2 separate regions of the Homo sapiens genome follow, and region 2 is linked to region 1. The links are contacts of gene promoters, found by promoter capture Hi-C in human tissues and cell types (Jung and others, 2019). All regions are on one chromosome and are shown on one strand. The core of a region is centred on a gene start or on the middle of the fragment in contact, and the rest is flanking DNA. Distances in the headings are between cores, read along the strand shown.

Region 1 (2,907 bases), core at 132-2,631:
ACTTCTTTAGAATGCCCAAAGCTCTCTTGGCATAATGACACAGTGAGGGGTGAGGGTGGGGTCATCAAGGAAAGTTATATGGGACTTTTTTCCCCAAGAAAGGGTCTTGCTCTGTCACCCACGCTGTACTGCAGTGGCGTGATCATAGCTCACTGCAGCCTTGACCTCCAGGGCTCAGGTGATCCTCCCACTCCAGCCTCCCAAGTAGCTGGGACTACAGGTGTTTGCCACCACGCCCAGCTAATTATATTTTTTGTAGAGACGGGGTCTCACTATGCTGCCTAGGCTGGTCTTGAATTTCTGGGCTCAAGAGTTCTGCCTGCCTTGGCCTCCCAAACTGCTAAGATTACAGGCGTGAGCTACCGCACCCGGCCCGTATTGGATTTTATTTATTTCCTTTTCTTGGTGCTCATCCTCCTTCACAACTTCAAGATGGGCATAAGATGTTTGACAACATGGTTCTTCATTAAGTCCAACTCCTTATCATAATAGGGCTTGGGAAATATTAAACACGAGGGCAATCGTGCTAACACAAAAATGGGCGCCCCCTAAACCTTGTTACTTGTTTGCTCACTTATAAGAAGAGCCAACTCAAAGGCTCAACTGAATTCTAGCACTAAGATTCCTTCCTTGCTGTAGAAGATCTGTACCTGGTCACTTCCATTAAAGTTACATAGGCGTTCCAAGAAGCCTCCTGCAATACAGTTGTGACTCAGCCGGTATGGGAGTAATGACGGTCCTGTGGTATTTCCTGCACCCCCAGAGTCCCAGAGTTTGTTAAGGACCGTGTAAGAGGACACCACGCTGGCTTTTCAGTGGGCGCGTCTCTCCTGGGGGCATCACCAGACAACCCCAGGCGGAAGTGGCGGTGGCCCATCCTCATGCAAACTGCAGTGTAAGAACTGGGGCCCGGGACTCCTCGCAAATGTGGGACACTGACATTCTGTGATGCTGTCCCAATGCCCTTTCAAAGCGCTCAGCCCCCAAATTCCCAACCAACAGCCATTTCAGGGAGGGGCTACCCAGGACCAGGCTTTTGATGAACCACGACTGTTCGGGGTGCCGTCTTGGGAGAGCCACGTCAGTCCCTCTGAGATTCCAAACGGCCGACAGCGGACACCTCGGGACCACATCCAAGCCTCGGGGACCTGTCAAGACGCCATCGACGGTCCTGGACCAAATCCCGCCCGGGAAGGGAAGGGTCGCGACCGGACCCTGGAGACCCACGGCTGCCTGGCGATCTGAGCCCACCCCGGCGCTGCCGTCCCGCCCCCACTTCCGATCGGTCGAAGGTCACGTGCCCTGACCCCGCCCCGCAGACGCGACTCCTCCAGCTGCGAGCGTCCCGGCTTTCCCTTCCGCCGGAAGTAGGGCGACTTTCCTTTTCCGGCTACGGGTCCCCAAGCGGAGCGGGAGGCCGGACCGGGGAGCCGAGCGGCGGCGTCGGCGGCGTCGGCGGCGGCGGCGACGGCGGCGGGGGCGGTAATGGCGGAGCTGGTGCAGGGGCAGAGCGCTCCTGTGGGGATGAAGGCCGAGGGCTTCGTGGATGCCCTGCACCGGGTCCGGCAGGTACGGGCGCAGCCGGCTGGCAGGAGCACGAGATCCCGAGGCGGGGCCTGGCGGGCGGGGAAGAGGGGTTCGGGCCTGGGGGGCGGGAGGCAGCCTGAACCGACGTCTCAGCCGGGCCGGGCCGTTCCGTGGAGTTCCTACAGCCGGGAGGAGCCGGGGGGATAAGGCGCCACTGCGAGGCCCAGGCCCGGCCTGTCGGGCGGGTCTCCCAGGTGCCTGAAGTCGCTGGGAAAGGGTTTGCTTAGAGCGTCTGGCCCCATCGTGCCCCAGCGGCCAGCCTGGACCCACAGTGTAGCTAGCGCGGGGTTCTGAACCTCGCGAGGGGAGGGGTCCGGGAAGCCCACGGGGAGGATCTGGGTGTAGACATAAAGCAGCTGTCTGACGCCCAGTAGCTTGTTAAAACTTGGGGAACATCGTCTTTAGACTTTCTGTTGAGTAGAAGGAACTCGAGGGCATCTTATATGTGAGGGTGCTCTTTGGAGAGGTGAGAGAGGGAGGTGTTACATGTGTGGGGGTGGTCCCCAAGATGTAGAAATTTCTCATGGCAAGCTTGCCTCTACTGGGGAGAATGATATGGCCTCATTCCGACATTGAAACTTTACTGTCTGACAATGTCGTGCATTTAATCAAAGTTAAATTAACTGGGTTTTAGAAGGCTCCAGGCTTCCCCAGAGAGTGAATATGGGACCTGCCAAAAATACTTACTGGCTTCTGGCATGGTACTTAGAACAGAACGTGTTCTTCATTTGTATCTAAAACTTACTTACAAGTCAGCCCTAACACTTCAGCTTCCTCGGTTAAGTGTCTTATGTCCTCCTCTCTTCTTATGTAATTGTAAGCGCACTGATACTTTAAAAGTTGGGCTATAACTAATTACTGCTTGATTCCTAACAGAAAGCCACAGGAGTCATTGTATTAGAAGAAGGTCTTCACTCGGGCGCTTGAAGATATGGTCTTTACATCTCTTTCCAGTATTCCAGGGGAGGGAACCCTACCTGTTTCCCTGATAACTGACTTTTCATGTTATATATTGATGCTCCTATAGACATTATATTGGATCCCAGAACTTTCCAAACCTGTGGTTCCACCTAAAATTTTATCTGATGAATTGTTACTTTACTGCCTAGCTGCCAACCAGTACAGTAGTGAGTATCCATCTTACTTAGACTTCAGATCCACCCATGGCTGTAATGGATGAACATGCCACCCAGCTCCCCTTCCACCACTCTGCTTGCTGGCGTGTTACAGTGCTCTCCTCTACAGTACAGGGTCCTGAACCTTGTTTCTCACTGGCTACTAATATGTAATGGCTTTCGCTCTGTGCTGATGTGTGACAGT
Region 2 (2,907 bases), core at 268-2,767, 280 kb after region 1:
CTGTGGGCTGAAGGCTGTTCCCTGTTTCCTTCAGCTCTACGTCTCCTCCGAGAGCCGCTTCAACACCCTGGCCGAGTTGGTTCATCATCATTCAACGGTGGCCGACGGGCTCATCACCACGCTCCATTATCCAGCCCCAAAGCGCAACAAGCCCACTGTCTATGGTGTGTCCCCCAACTACGACAAGTGGGAGATGGAACGCACGGACATCACCATGAAGCACAAGCTGGGCGGGGGCCAGTACGGGGAGGTGTACGAGGGCGTGTGGAAGAAATACAGCCTGACGGTGGCCGTGAAGACCTTGAAGGTAGGCTGGGACTGCCGGGGGTGCCCAGGGTACGTGGGGCAAGGCGTCTGCTGGCATTAGGCGATGCATCTGCCTGGAAGTCTACCTCCTGCCTGCTGTCCGAGGGCTTCATTGGCGCCACGGAATTGACTTTTCCGTCTTATATCATTCCTGTGTCTTTGTAGGAGTGGAATCATTCTCATAGTCCGAGTGTGTTTCCACATATGGTGAGAGCTGACAAGCATGGAGGGGTTTTGGTGTAAAAAGATTAGTCATTTGGAGAGGTTTTCTCATTTTATGGCAAGGTTCTTTTAAAGCCGTGGATTTCCATGCTGTTCGTGCGGCATGGAGATCACTTCCTACCGAGAGTTAAGGAGGAAAAAAAGATCTCTGAGTTTTGAAAGAAGATTTAACCAAAATGCATTTGACTCTTCTGTGGATTTTTGTTGGCTGATTTGGAAGGCAGGTGCCCTGGGCATCCCCAGTGGGTTCCAATTCTGCAGCTGCCCAGACTCCTGCAGGCAGAGGTGGAAGTGTCCCCGCTAGAAAGGCATCCAGGAAACTCGCTTTTGACCAACTCAGATACAGTCTGGTCTTTCTTGTTAACTGGGACTTTACCCTCTCCACTAATGAATAGTGTTTGTAGTTTCCAGGCAGGTTTTTTTCTTCTTTTGAAGTTCTTTGAAACCCTTAGGACGCCAAGGGAAGGAAGTTTTCATTTTCAGCCCTTTGCATTCTTCAAAATGTGATCCAGGCTTTTCCCTGTGGCGAGGGTGTCCCCTAGTGTTGACTTACATTATTTCCACTTGTTTTAAATGAACTTTGATTACCTTGACCTGTGCACAGAAATCAAGAGAGGCAGCCCCTTTTTAGAGCTGTTAGAAAAGAACTGAAACATCCACCTCTGGGAAAAATAGAGTTTAGTTTGTGCATGTGTCTCAGAAGTCAGGTGCACACATTGAGACTGGTGCAGCCACATGCCTGCCTTTTAGGGACTCCTTGACTGACCTGATGCCTTCACCCAAAGGCATAGTGAAATGGGAAGTATGATTTCTGACTGGTATGAAGTGGCTGCTTTAGAGAAAAGATCACATTCTTTAGTCCTAGAAACCAAAGGTGGCTTCCTGATGCTCTTATTCAGCACGTGCCTGTCTTTGAGGCAGGACTGGCACTGGGGTGGGGGCATGGTTTGGGGTTACCTTAAGGACCCTGGATATTTCTCAGATAGGACTTTTTCTTTTCTTTTTTTGAGACGGAGTCTTACTCTGTTGCCTAGGCTGGAGTGCAGTGGCATGATCTCAGCTCACTGCAACCTCCGCCTCCCCAAATTGGCGATTCTCCTTCCTCAGCCTCACGAGTAGCTGGGATTACAGGCACCCGCCACCACACCCAGCTAATTTTTGTATTTTTAGTAGAGATGGGGTTTCGCTGTGTTGGCCTGGCTGGTCTCAAACTCCTGACCTCAAGTGATCTGCCTACCTCAGCCTCCCAGAGTGCTGGGATTATAGGCATGAGCCACCACACCCGGCCCTGGACTTTTTCTTAATTGAATAAATATTTATCAAGTTCTTCACTTCTATTTGACGGTTCCTGGGCTCAACACTGGATTAGAAAATGAATGGGACAGAGTTCTTCATCTGAGACATAGGGTGGTCCAGGTAGTAGGAGGAAGAAGGATTGCAGCGCAGCAGTCCTCGGGACACCACCAGGGGGTGAACGAAGGAGGGACGGGGGAGCTGTGCAGGTGCCCCAGCTCCTTGGGTTGCACAGGGTTGAAGACCAGACCCAAGAAATGGGGCCTTGACCAGCTCAGCAAACTGAGAATGGCCTAGATTTCAGCACACTTTCACCAGGATTTGTCAAATGAAGGAAGATTCCAAGCGCAAAATACCCTAGATTTCAACCAGTAAAAGCTTGTCTGAAAACTTCCAAGATCGGGTTGTACAACTTGACATTTGAGGAAACGCTACTTCAGTAGATGGTGCTGTGGCATTGTTTTCTGAACAACTGAAGGAGGAGACTCCAGAGAAGGGTACCTGCTGGAGACCTGTGTGGTTTGTGGGGTGGGTTTCTTATATCACTGAATCTAAAGTGGGTGCCTTTCAGAATGTGCTTTACTAATAATGTGTTACTCTGCTTTTAATTATACTTCTAATAATTTTTCCCAAGAGCCTAATTAACTTACGATCTCACAGTTGGTAAAGAATTACAGGATGTCATTGCGTGGATTTCTGTGGGCAGTCACCCGGAGTGGTATCTAATTAGGGAAAAGGCAGTATGTCCCTTTCTGGAAGTGTGTTAACTGAAAATACGGTACTAAGCAACTGCTAAATAAATTAGCCCTCCTTCCTCCTGGCCGTGCGCAGAAACATCCCTGCAGTATGTTGCCTATTTGTCAAATAAGATTAGTGTAAATATGGGGCATTTACCTTTGCTATAGAAGCTGAAATTGCCAGGCACGGTGGCTTACGCCTGTAATCCCAGCACTTTGGAAGGCCAAGGCTGGTGGATTGCTTGAGCCCAGGAGTTAAAGACCAGCCTGGGCAACATGGCAAAACTCTGCCTCTACAAAAAATACCAAAAATCAGCCAGGCGTGGTGGTGCGTGTGTATTCCTAGCTA

What was found. Contacts are between HindIII fragments. The study calls those that stand out against the background at their distance.
Region 2: a contact is called between a fragment that was not itself captured here and the fragment with the promoter of FUBP3 in region 1, in 4 of the 25 tissues and cell types used here (IMR-90 fibroblasts, aorta, lymphoblastoid cells and 1 more).

Annotation. Positions count from the first base shown.
Region 1 is chr9:130,578,196-130,581,102 of GRCh38, forward strand. It overlaps FUBP3 (far upstream element binding protein 3), which reads left to right and starts at 1,382. Exons shown (of 19, transcript NM_003934.2): 1 at 1,382-1,569. The coding sequence starts at 1,486. It overlaps LOC100272217 (a long non-coding RNA gene), which reads right to left and starts at 1,299. Exons shown (of 1, transcript NR_027440.1): 1 at 1-1,299. It overlaps LOC124902286 (a long non-coding RNA gene), which reads left to right and starts at 1,645. Exons shown (of 2, transcript XR_007061818.1): 1 at 1,645-2,053; 2 at 2,464-2,907. RefSeq lists a silencer at 1,330-1,699. The HindIII fragment of the contact is 10,079 bases long and covers 1-2,833 here.
Region 2 is chr9:130,862,729-130,865,635 of GRCh38, forward strand. It overlaps ABL1 (ABL proto-oncogene 1, non-receptor tyrosine kinase), which reads left to right. Exons shown (of 11, transcript NM_005157.6): 4 at 35-307. Among named protein-coding and RNA genes, the nearest start is that of ABL1, 29 kb to the left of the region's middle. RefSeq lists enhancers at 1-259, 260-760. The HindIII fragment of the contact is 6,876 bases long and covers 1-2,907 here.